Regions from separate parts of the Homo sapiens genome. Here region 1 is linked to region 2. Evidence: promoter capture Hi-C in 16 types of primary human blood cells and fetal thymus (Javierre and others, 2016). All regions are on one chromosome and are shown on one strand. Each heading gives the region's core, a stretch centred on a gene start or on the middle of the fragment in contact. The rest is flanking DNA. Distances are from core to core; before and after follow the strand shown. Region 1 overlaps IP6K1 (inositol hexakisphosphate kinase 1). Region 2 holds the start of MON1A (MON1 vesicular trafficking associated A).

Region 1 (6,522 bases), core at 439-2,938, 190 kb before region 2:
AAAGAATAAATATGCTAGCTCAAAAGTACAATTCAATTAAACTAAAATTAATCCCTTCTTTCTAAGTCAAATGAAGCCCAATTTAGTCAAAGAAAATAGAAGCATAGGCTGGGCACGGTGGCTTACGCCTGTAATCCCAGCACTTTGGGAGGCTGAGGGGGGCGGATCACGAGGTCAGGAGATTGAGACCATCCTGGCTAACACGGTGAAACCCTGTCTCTACTAAAAATACAAAAAATTAGCCGGGCGTGGTGGTACACGCCTGTAGTCCCAACTACTCGGGAGGCTGAGGCAGGAGAATGGCGTGAGCCCGGGAGGCAGAGCTTGCAGTGAGCCAAGATCGCGCCACTGCACTCCAGCCTGGGCAACAGAGTGAGACTCCATCTCAAAAAAGAAAAAGAAAAAAAAATAGAAGCATAGTGGAAGATATTATTAGTCAAATTAATCTATTTCAGGGCCAGGCATGGTGGCTCACATCTGTAATCCCAGCACATTGGGAGGCCAAGGCAGGCAGATCACTTAAGCTTAGAAGTTTGAGACCCGCCTGGGCAACATGGTGAGACCCTGTCTCTACAAAATACAAAAAAAAAGAGCCGGTGCACACCTGTGGTCCCAGCTACTCCAGAGGCTGAGGTGGGAGAATCACTTGAGCCCAGGAGGTCAAGGCTGTGGTGAGTTGAGATCGTGCCACTGCATTCCAGTCTGGGCAACAGAGTGAGACCCTGTCTCAAAATAGTATATAAATAAATAAATTGGACTAAAATTTTATATTAAAAAAACACACAGTCCAGCCACGGTGGCTCATACCTGTATCCAGGCACTTTGGGAGGCCAAGGCAAGTGGGTCACTTAAGGTCAGGAGTTCGAGACCAACCTGACCAACATGGTGAAACCCCATCTCTACTAAAAATACAAAAATTAGCCAGGAATGGTGGCAGGCACCTGTAAGTCCCAGCTACTCAGGAGGCTGAGGTCCTTGAACCCAGGAGGTAGAGGTTGCAGTGAGCCAAGTTCATACCACTGCACTCTAGCCTAGGCAATGAAGCAAGACCCTATCTCAAAACAAAAACAAAAACAAAATACACACACACACACACACACACACACACACACACACACACTTACCTTTCAGCTGGGAGCAGTGGCTCACACCTGTGATCCCAGCTACTTGGGAGGCTGAGGTATCATGCCTCATGGAGGAGGATCACTTGAGACCAGGAGTTCAAGACTAGCCCAGGCAACATAGTGAGGTCCGATCTCTTAAATCTCAGCACTATGAGAGGCCAAGGTGGGAGGATTCCTTGAGGCTAGGAGTTCAAAACTAGCCTGGGTAACAGAGCAAGACCCTGTCTCTACAAAAAACTTTAAAAATTACCTAGTTGTAGTGGCGTGCCTATAGTCCCAGCTACTCGGGGGGCTGAGGTGGGAGGATCACTTGAGCCATAGTTTTTTTTTTTTGTTTTTTTTTTTTTTTTGAGACAAGAGTTTCACTCTTGTTGCCCAGGCTGGAATGCAATGGCGTGGTCTCTGCTCACTGCAACCTCTGCCTCCCGGGTTCAAGTGATTCTTCTGCCTCAGCCTCCCAAGTAACTGGGATTATAGGCACCTGCCAGCACACCCAACTAAGTTTTGTATTTTTAGTAGAGACAGGGTTTCACCATGTTGGCGAGGCTGGTCTCGAACTCCTGACCTCAGGTGATCCGCCTGCCTCGGCCTCCCAAAGTGCTAGGATTATAGGCATGAGCCACCATGCCCGGCGGAGCCATGGTTTCGAGGCTGCAGTGAGGTATGATTGCACCACTGCACAATGCGCCACAATTATTACTGTGTTGTAATGTCTAATGGTGTGTGTAATGCCTAATGGTGTGTGCTGAATGGTATTACTGTGTTGTCTGCCTAATGGTGACTTCTATTCCCATCATTCCTTCTATATTTATTAATCAAAATAAATCAGAATTCTGGCCGGGCACGGTGGCTCACTCCTGTAATCCCAGCACTTTGGGAGGCCGAGGCAGGTGGATCACAAGGTCAGGAGATTGAGACCATCCTGGCTAACATGGTGAAACCCTGTCTCTACTAAAAATACAAAAGATTAGCCAGGCTTGGTGGCGGGAGCCTGTAGTCCCAGCTACTCGGGAGGCTGAGGCAGAAGAATGGCGTGAACCCGGGGGGCAGAGCTTGCAGTGAGGCGAGACTGCGCCACTGCACTCCAACCTGGACAACAGAGCGAGACTCCGTCTCAAAAAAAAAAAAAAAAAAAAAAAAAAAGAAATTAGAATTCTATAAGGAAGAGTTGTCCCTTCATATCCATGTATTTATCAGTATAGACTTGTGGATATTTTGTCATTTAAATTCTTCTAGATTGGGCCCTTCAATTCCTTTAAAGTTAGCTCTTCGTACTTCTGACATGATTTTTGACCACTTCTTTACTATCTGTCACCATAAGATGTTCTAGGCTTGTCTTATAATTTTCCTGCCCGAACTCAGGAACCAACCATTTCACCAAGGAGCTCTGTTTCTTTTTATTGTAAGAATGGTATTTAGAAAACTCAGGATTTGGTTACTAGATATACTGATTGCTACTGAAGTATCACTGCTTTTAGGCCCTTTCAGCACATGGAGCTAAGAAATACATGTATGATTACTAGCCCACACACATACACACATCTAATTGCTGCTATCAGCACAGGTGTTTAAGCTCAATTAAGCTAAGAAAAAGTGTCAATAATATTTCATATCTTGGCAGGTTTAAAAACAAATTTTCATTTATTTAGTATGACCAGCTACAATCATCAACTGTTAGTGCTTGCAGTACTAAATGTGAAGTTCAAGGCTTCTGTACATTTATGCAAATAAGCTTTGCCTCATTCATTTATCAAGTATTTACTGACCATCTACTAGATGCCAGGCCCTGAACTCATAAGTGTAAAAGACAAAAAAAAAAGTCCATACCTTCAAGGAGCTTCCATACTAATGTGAAAAACAAACACATAGACAAAAATACAGATTGTGATAAGTGCTATGAAGAAACTAAGTAAGGTTCTATCACTGAAAATATGGTTTCCAGAGCAGAATATAATATAGGATGATCAGGGAAGAAGTGTCTGGGGAGACCTAATAAACTAAAGGTTGGAGGAGCAGGTGTGGATAAGGGTACTGGAAAGAACATTCCAAGCATAAGTAAAATCCCTGAGGTTAATTAAAATAAAAATGAAATTTAAAAAGCTTGAGATGTCCTAAAAACTGGTTCACCTCTTTCTGCCAATTAAGAAACAACCCAGGCCAGTCATGGTGGCTCACACCTATAATCCCAACACTTTGGGAGGCCAAGGCAGGTAGGTCACCTGAGTTGAGTTTGAGACCAGCCTGGCCAATATGGCAAAACCCCGTCTCTACTAAAAATACAAAAATTAGCCAGGCATGGTGGCACATGACTGTAATCCCAGCATTTTGGGAGGCCAAGGCAGGCAAATCACCTAAAGTCAGGAGTTCGAAAGCAGCTTGCCCAACATGGTGAAACCCCATCTCTACTAAAAATACAAAATTTAGTTAGGCGTGGTGGCACATGCCTGTAATCCCAGCTACTTGGGAGGCTGAGGCAGAAGAATCGCTTGAACACGGAGGTGGAGATTGCAGTGAGCCGAGATCGTGCCACTGCACTCCAGCCTGGGCGACAGAGCAAGACTCTGTCTCAAAAAAAAAAAAAAAAAAAGACAGAAACAACCCAATTCAAAATGGTCAAAGGACTTGAATAGACATTTCTTTAAGAAGGTATACCAACAGACAATAACAAAAAAATCCTCTGCATCATTCGTTAGACATTAGGAAAAAGCAAGTCAAAGCCACAGATACCACACACATCCACTAGGATGGCTACAAAAAGAAAAGAAAAGGAGTGTTGGTAAGGATGTGGAGAAATAGGGACCCTTGTACATTGCTGGTAAGAAGGCAAAGTGGTGCAGCCACTGTGGGAAACAGTTTGGCAGTTCCTCCGAAAGGTAAACAAAGAACTTCCACATGATCTGACAATTCCACCCCTAGGCATATACCCAAAAGAATTAAAAGCAGTGACTCATATGGACATTTGTAAGACAATGTTCACAGCAGCATTATTCGCAATAGCCAAAAGGTGGAAACAACCCAGGTGTCCATCAACAGATGAATGAATAAACAAAATGTGGTATACACTTACAATTAAATATTATTCAGCCATAAAAAAGAATGAAGTGGGCCAGGCACGGTGGCTCACGCTTGTAATCCTAGCACTTTGGGAGGCCGAGGCAGGCGGATCACAAGGTCAGGAGATCAAGGCCATCCTGGCCAACATGGTGAAACCCTGTCTCTACTAAAAATACAAAAAATAGCTGGGCGTGGTGGCACATGTCTGTAATCCCAGCTACTTGGGAGGCTGAGGCAGGAGAATCGCTTCGCTTGAACCCGGGAGTTGGAGGTTGCAGTAAACCAAGATCGCGCCACTGCACTCTAGCCTGGCAACAGAGAGAAACTCTCAAAAAAAAAAAAAAAGTGCTAGGATTACAGATGTGAGCCACTGTGCCCGGCCAAGAATGGAGTTTTAATACACACTATGACATGAACGAACCTTGTAAACATTAAGCTAAATGAACCAAGCCAGACACAAAAGGTCAAAAATTGTAATGATTTCACTTTTATGAAATATCTACAATAGGCAAATCTGTAGAGACAGAAAGTAAACAAGAGGTTACCAGGGGATCAGATGATGGAAGAATGGGGAGTTATTATTTAATAGGTACCGAGTTTGTTTCAGATGATGAAAAATTCAGGAAATGGACAGTGGCTATACAACATTGTGAATGTGTTAATGCCACTAAATTATACACTTTAAAATGGTGAATGTTATGTTATGTACATTTTACCAAAATTTTTTTTAAAAAGTTAAGGAAACAAAAAGTCAATTCTATAGCACTGGTTTTTCTAAATTGAAACTCTCCTAAGTAAAGGACAGTGTTAACCTGACTGAAATCATACAACTTAAAGTTATAAAGCAGAATGTAAAAAAAAAACTTAGACACAATGAGCAATCATAAAAATTTATAAACACTGACAAAGATCAGATTTTAAAATAAAGTTAGTTAATTCTGGTATAATTAATATTCATGAGGTTCTTTTCTATAAAGTTGACTTATATTTTAAAATAAATTATTTTTCCTTCAAATATCAGGACTTCCAGGCCCCAGAAAGTCCCTGCATTTCTTACCAACAATTCTTTGCCCCAGCACATATAGACACAGGATACACACAGCACCACTGCCAGCTATCTAACCGCTTTAACCTGGAAGTATCCATTCCGCCTCCGGGACGAGAGAAATGTTCCCTCTTCTCTCCCAGACTAGTGTCACAGCAAATGGGAAAATTCACTGACAACAGCATGCTCTTTTCCACCAATGGAACTTAATGCTATGACTTTTTCTCAGCTTTACCTATTAATAAATTCAATTTTCAAGATCTAAAGACCTTGCTGATGCTTTCAGCCTCTAATTTTATCTAACAAAGTGACTTCGTGCTTTGAGAAAAAAGACCTACAATGATATATCATGGCAAACAAACCAAGAAAAAACTGTGGCAAGGGGTCTATAAGCCCAAGGCTGCTGCTTTCATTAAACTGGCCAGTGACTGACCTTTGTATTCAGGGGTGAACTCCTTCATTTCGGGAGGGAGGGACTCGTAAAAGCGCTGTTCCCGGGAGATGAGGGGCTTGCACACAGTGTGATCGTCGTAACGCATCATGCTGCTGTGTCCGCCTACTTGGTGGATGAAGGGCTCCAGGAGGACTCCCCGGTCTCCAGCCCGACTTGCATTCTTGCCATACTGCCCCACTTCCATGGTTTGACAAACACACATTGCGTTGGGGGCCAGTTGCACACTGAGGGCAGAGGATGCAGCACATGGGCCACAAAAGGAGAGCTACATAGAAGGTCCTGGCCAGGTGAAAGCCAATGGTCAGATTCTATTCAGCTTATTATTCTGTCCTACAGAAAAGAAGAGAGGAAGAAGGAATCAAAACACTGGGTGAGTCACAATTTCCCTGGAGCTCCATGAGTGAGAGCAGGGACTCTTGTTTTGTTCCCTACTATGTGTATCCCTAGCACGTACAATACTACGTGGCACATGAAAGGCAGTTGGTTAAATTTTTGCTGAATGATGCAACCTTGGCCTCTTCCATCTATCTTGTGCACAGAAGCCCACATTCTCTGCCTTTCCTAGTTCCCACCTCCCTTCTGAGTTATCTAAAGGATTTTATTTTAGAGCTACAGCACATTACAACCATCAGGAAAGCACCTATCCCGGTTTACTTCACACCCAAAGATGAGATCAGAAAAAAACAGAAGGCAATGGGAATTTGTTCTGTTCAGACTCCTTAGGATATCCAGTACTGGTAAGGGTCTCTCCTTCACTCAGAGGAAGGGTTTCTGTCTGAGGAATTAGGTCACATGAGATTCCCAAATTCTCCACTGAAGGTGCCAAGGACCAGGCAGGCCATTCA
Region 2 (6,277 bases), core at 978-3,477:
CAGGCTAGGGCTATCATATAGACAGTTGGGAGTCAGGTCAAAGAGCTGTCTTATAGACAGCTGGGAGTTCCTCCAGGCTAACTGGTTGTTCACTGGCTCTGGAGTTGCAGGAATAGACAACGGGCTCTCTGCTGCTCTTGGAAGTATCTCCTAAATTAAACTCCTTAATTAGCCAGGTATGGTGGCAGGCGCCTATAATCCCAGCTACTCAGGAGGCTGAGGCAGGAGAATCACTTGAACCCAGGGGGCAGAGGTTGCAGTGAGCTGATATCGCGCCATTGCACTCCAGCCTGGGCAAAAGATTGAAACTCTGTCTCAAAAAAAAAAACAACAAAAAAAAACAAAAAACTCCTTGGTCTGCCACATGCCACTGCTCTGTGACGTTGCACTTTTGGTTCAAAGACCCAAACAAGGTCTACAATAGCTTACTTATTCTGTCCTCAGGGCCCACTCTCCACTGATCCCTTGTGGGCTTTAGCTGACTAAGCCCAGTGTGGCTGAGTGGTACCCAGCACGGTACCTGCATGGGGAAGGGTTGGCGGGGGCCAGATCAGCTGGCCAGAGCTAGTGGATGCTTCCTTCACAATAGTTCTCCTGCCACCTGAGATCATACAGTATCTCAGCATCTCCTAGGTCAGTCTGGGGTCCAGCCAGAGGCCTGATGAAGCAAACAGCTCTCTGAATACTTACTCTGGAAACTCAGACAGGGAGGCTGAGTGAATCACAGCAAAATCCACCCCAACCCCCATTGGAGCCACAACTGTGCAACTGAAGCTCCTGGGAGGCTAGAATTGAAGAAGTTAGGCAAAGGAGGTCTCTTAGAACCAGCCCCAGATGCCCCTTCTCAGGGAACCCTTCTCAGACAACCCCTCTAGAAGCCCCAGGCCTTGCTTTTCCTAGAAGTGCCCTGCTATGCCTGTGAGCAATGTCACCAAACAAGTTGGCTCAATCAGCCCTTGTAGTGTGCCTCTCTCACTCAGGCAGCCTTGGAGCAGAGAAGGCCTTCAGAAGCCCCTCCCTACTGACTCCCTACCACTCCTGCTCCCTCTTCTTGCTTGGATAGCACTTCATTTCACCTTAACCCTTTGGAGCGGCCTGTCTGGAAAGGAGGTGCCAGGATACAGGATGTGTGGCAGACAAGGCCCAGGTGAGGCTGTGCTATGGCTGCTTCAGCAGGATGCCTACTCCATGCTGAGATCACAGTCTGGTCCTTGTCACTTCTGGCGGTTACTTCCCTCCCTGACAAAGGGTGCTCACTCTCCCTCTGCAAACTTGTGCCCAGAAAGGGTGGCTCACCCAGTACAAGGGACAACCCAGTTGCACCAGGCAAACTGGTGCAAAGTCCGGCCAGGCGCAGTGGCTCATGCCTGTAATCCCAGCACTTTGGGAAGCTGAGGCAGGCAGATCACCTGAGGTCAGGAGTTCAAGACGAGCCTGGCCAACATGGTGAAACCCCGTCTCTACTAAAAAAATACAAAAATACAAAAAATTAGCTGGGCGTGGTGGCGCATGCCTGTAATCCCAGCTACTCGGGAGGCTGAGGCAGGAGAATCGCTTGAACCTGGGAGGCGGAGGTTGCAGAGAGCTGAGATCACACCACTGCACTCCAGACTGGGCAACAAGAGTGAAACTCCGTCTAAAAACAACAAAGCAAAGACCCAAGCCCCTTCCAGGTGCTGCCCCGCTCATCCCAGTTACCTCTGTTGCTTTTTGAGAAGACTCTACCGGCCGAATATGTGTACGTTTGTTGGCGGGGCGGGGGTGGGGGAGTGGGGAGAGTCCTACCTGGCCACTGCCCCCTACCGGATCTCGCCCTCCCAGCCAAAGGATGGGTTCCAGATCTCGCCTTTTGTATTCCCCAGCTGGGGACTAGCCGGCTGAGGGACCGCAGGGAGACACAGTCTTCCCATTGCAAACGATAGCGTTGATGGCTGGAGGCCCCCGTCTTCAAGCCCCTCCCTCCAAAGATGACAGCTCTCCAGTCTCTAGGTGCCTCCAGGCCACGTGGGCTGGCAGTCAACTCACCTGTTTCTCAGAGGAGTCCAGGACGCACAGAAGGTGCCGGTCACTGCCCTCTGCCGGACCCATGGAGGGGTAAGGGTGTCCGGCCGGGGCCGGCCTGAGGGCACAGCTTCGCGGGGCCCCGGCCCCCTGCGTACACAGACATGGCCACAGCGCAGGCACCGCTCCCTCCCACCGCCCTCACCCGGCCGCCGGTGCAGGAAGATAGCTTTCGCCGGCCTCTCGCGGCCAAGGCCCAGCTCCAGCCGCTCAGCCCGACTCGGCCCGCCCCCGGGGTGCATTGTGGGAAATGTAGTCCTTAGCGTTTGGCCGCCTGCGGCGCCGAGGGACTGGTTCTGGGCTCCTAGTCCCAGCAGAGCCGTGGGCAGGTCCTGACCCGGGTCCGCGATTGCCTCATCCGGCGCCGCCTTCTAGGGGCCTGGGCGCCTCCTCCGAGTCTAGAGTCCCACACAGAACAGCCCTGGACTCTGGGCCTCTCCGTCCGAGCCAGCTAGCAGTTCATTTCAAGTGAGAGAAAGGGACGTTAGGATTGTTTCTCCCACTGATTGTGGAAGGACAGTGCAAGTTTGGGGGACTGGATAAATGTCATTAGTGGGCCCAGCCACACAGGCTGTAAAGGATGTGGGCATGCGCAAAAGTCGCACTAATTGTTTCTAAAAACATATTTGTAGCCACGTTTTAATGTATCAGTATAATGCTCTAGAACGGTAGTTCTCAACTCTGACGGCACATAGAATAAGCCGGGAAGCTTTAAAAAAAAAAAAAAAGAACTAGGACGGGCGAGGCGGCTCACGCCTGTAATCCCAACACTTGGGAGACCGAGGTGGGCGGATCACTTGAGGTCAGGAGTTCCAGACCAGCCTGGCCAACATGGTGAAACCCCATCTCTACTAAAAATACAAAAACTAGCCAGGCTTGATGGCGTGTGCCTGTAGTCCCAGATACTCGGGAGGCTGAAGTGGGATTCCAGGAGGTCGAGGTTGCTGTGAGCCATGATCATGCCCTGCACTCCAGCCTGAGCACCAGAGCGAGACCCTGTCTCAAAAACAACAACAAAAAAACTAATGCCTGGACACCAGCCCTAGAGATTTTGATTTAATTGAATTTAGAGTAGGGTGGAGTGTTGGGGAGCCAGGCATCACTATTGTTTTAAAAGCTCCCCAGGTGATTTACCATTGCAAAGAATCATTGTTTGTAATTTCCTAGACGCAAAGCAATAAAAACAACAGGAAAACAGTCAACAACAGGCTCTCCCAAAAGACCCTTATTTTTAGAGATGGTTTTAAAAAGTAAAATTAGTGTTTGGCACCACTGCTCATGTTCTTTTCTGAAGCAATTAATTCACTTTACAGCCTTATGGTTAATTCTCCCAAAAGTTAATAGGATGAAAAAAAAAGTCAGATCACTCCTCTGACTTTCCCTGCTGCTCCACAAGCACCTGGGGGCAGTGTCCTTTTCCTCTCTAAGCCCTACACTGGAGTTAGGGTAGAGCTCCGCCCCTGGGCTTTTCTTCCAGTCTCAGATGGCTGCCACTTGTAGCCTGCTTCCACAACACTGGCCTGTGACTGACATGGTGACAAAGCTGTGGCCTTTCACTGAAGATGGCTTTGCATAAGGCTATCAAGTTCTTGCACATAGTCTAAGGGAAGCTTTCTCACCCCCATGTCCCCCACTTTTAGGTAAGGACATAAGAAAATGCCCTATTCCTTAACTGAGAGTCTCTCCAGGTCTCCACAGATCACTCAGTATTTTATCTCCTCATTAGCTCAGAAGTCCAAGTTCCCTCCCTTAGGGCAAGAATCATTTATACAGTTGTTTTCTCTAATTATTACACTATAAGAGTTTGAGCCATGAGCTGGGCTTGGTGGCACAGCCTTGTAATCCCAATTACTCCACAGGCTGAAGCAGGAAGAATTACTTGAGCCCAGGAGATCAAGTCTGAAGTGAGCCATGATCATGGACAACAAGAAGGAGAAAGTTAAGAAAGAAGGAAGGAAGGGAGGGAGGGAGGAAGGAAGGAAGGAAGGAGAGTTTAAGTCAAGATATAACATTCTCTGCTTGGTACAGAAATGTCCTGGCTATGTTCCTTTCCTTTTTCTTTTTCTTTTTTTATTTTTTTTTTAGAGATGGTGGTTTCACTATGCTATGTTGACAAGGCTGGTATCGAACTCTTGGCCTCAAGCAATTTTCCCATCTTGGCCTCCCAAAGTACTGTGATTACAGGCATAAGCCACCATGCCTGGCTAATATCCTGCCTATATTTCATTAACTTGAATTTACACCCTATAGAATTCATCTCCATAGAAGACAAATTAATTTAATTTACTTATTTTTTTTCAAATGAAGTCTCTATCATCCAGGCTAGAGTGCAGTGGTGCCATCTCAGCTCACTGCAACCTCTGCCTTCTGGGTTCAAGTAGTTCTCTGCCTCAGCCTCCCGAGTGGCTGGGATTACAGGTACCTACCACCACGCCCAGCTAATTTTTGTATTTTTAGTAGAGACAGGGTTTCACCATCTTGGCCAGGCTGGTCTTGAACTCCTGACCTCGTGATCCACCCGCCTCAGCCTCCCAAAGTGCTGGGATTACAGGCATGAGCCACCACACCCCGCCCAGAAGACAAATTTAAAGTTTTCTTTTTTTTTTTTTTTTTGAGACGGAGTCTCGCTCTGTTGCCCAGGCTGGAGTGCAGTGACGTGATCTCAGCTCACTGCAACCTCCGCCTCCCGCGTTCAAGCAATTTTCCTGCCTCAGCCTCCAGAGTAGCTGGGATTACAGGTGCGTACCACCACGCCCGGCAAATTTTTGTGATTTTTGTATTTTTAGTAGAGACATGTTTCACCATGTTGGTCAGACTGGTCTCGAACTCCTGACCTCGTGATTCATCCATCTCGGCCTCCCAAAGTGCTGGGATTACAGGTATGAGCCACTGCGCCCGGCCAGTTTTTTGTTTTGTTTTGTTTTTTTGAGATGAAGTCTTGCTCAGTCACCCAGTCTGGAGTGCAGTGGCACTATCTCGGCTCACTGCAACCTTAGCCTCCCACGTTCAAGCGATTCTCCTGCCTCAGCCTCCCAAGTAGCTGGGACTACAGGCATGCACCACCATGCCCAGCTAATTTTTTTATTTTTAGTAGAGATGGGGTTCCACCATGTTGGCCAGGATGGTCTCAATCTCTTGACCTTGTGATCCGCCCGCCTCGGCCTCCCAAAGTGCTGGGATTACAGGCGTGAGCCACTGCGTCCAGCCTAATTTTTGTATTTTTAGTAGAGACGGGGTTTCACCAATGTTGGCCAGGCTGATCTCGAACTCCTGACCTTGTGATCCGCATCCACCCACCTCGGCCTCCCAAAGTGCTGGGATTACAGGTGTGAGCCACTGCGCCTGACCAAATTTAAAGTTTTCTACCTAACTAGTTCTTGACAGTCTCCATGTTTAGCTCAGGATTTCTTCCAGAGTCTTACTATTCCTGTTAAGCACATCAGCTCCACCAGATAGTACTACTGTCATCTGGAAGTATTACATCTACTTAGCTAAGCAAGTGGCCATATATCTCATATATTTCTCGCTAAGACTTGTGCCTAAGACATTCTCGCAGAGCAAATCATGGTGGGTACTTACTAAAACATCTTAGGTTATTACTTAAAACTTTGTTTTAATCCACTTTTTTTTTTTTTTTTGAAACGGTGTTTCACTCTTGTTGCCCAGGCTGAAGTGCAATGGTGCGATCTCGGCTCACCACAACCTCCTTCTCCCGGGTTCAGGCGATTTTCCTGCCTTAGCCTCCCAAGTAGCTGAGATTACAGGCATGTGCCACCACACCCGGCTAATTTTGTATTTTTAGTAGAGATGGGGTTTCTCCATGTTGGTCAGGCTGGTCTCGAACTCCCGACCTCAGGCAATCCACCCACCTCGGCCTCCCAAAGTGCTGGGATTACAGGCATGAGCCCCCATGCCCGGCCTTGTTTGTTTTTTGAGTCAGGGTCTTAATCTGTCACCCAGGCTGTAGTGCAGTGGCTCACTGCAGCCTTGACCTCCTGGGCCTAAGTGATCCTCCCACTTCAGCCTCCCGAGTGGCTGGGACCACAAGTGTGTGCCACCACATTGGGCAAGTTTTAAATTTTTTGTAGAAATGGCGTCTCCTTATGTTGCCCAGGCTGGTCTGGAACTCCTGGGCTCAAGCAATCCTCCTACCTTGGCCTCCCAAAGTGTTGGGATTACAGGTGTGAGCCACTGTGCCTGGACTGTTTTTATTTTT

The links. Contacts are between HindIII fragments. The CHiCAGO score rates a contact against its expected background, and 5 or more counts as called.
Region 1: a contact is called between a fragment that was not itself captured here and the fragment with the promoter of MON1A in region 2, in 1 of 17 cell types (endothelial precursors). The highest score is 5.0, in endothelial precursors.

What each region holds. Positions count from the first base shown.
Region 1 is chr3:49,742,162-49,748,683 of GRCh38, forward strand. IP6K1 (inositol hexakisphosphate kinase 1) reads right to left here. Exons shown (of 6, transcript NM_153273.4): 2 at 5,657-6,007. The coding sequence starts at 5,879. Among named protein-coding and RNA genes, the nearest start is that of GMPPB, 21 kb to the left of the region's middle. The HindIII fragment of the contact is 2,332 bases long and covers 523-2,854 here.
Region 2 is chr3:49,927,584-49,933,860 of GRCh38, forward strand. MON1A (MON1 vesicular trafficking associated A) reads right to left here and starts at 2,228. Exons shown (of 6, transcript NM_032355.4): 1 at 2,026-2,228. RefSeq lists a silencer at 1,935-2,284. The HindIII fragment of the contact is 4,855 bases long and covers 1-2,768 here.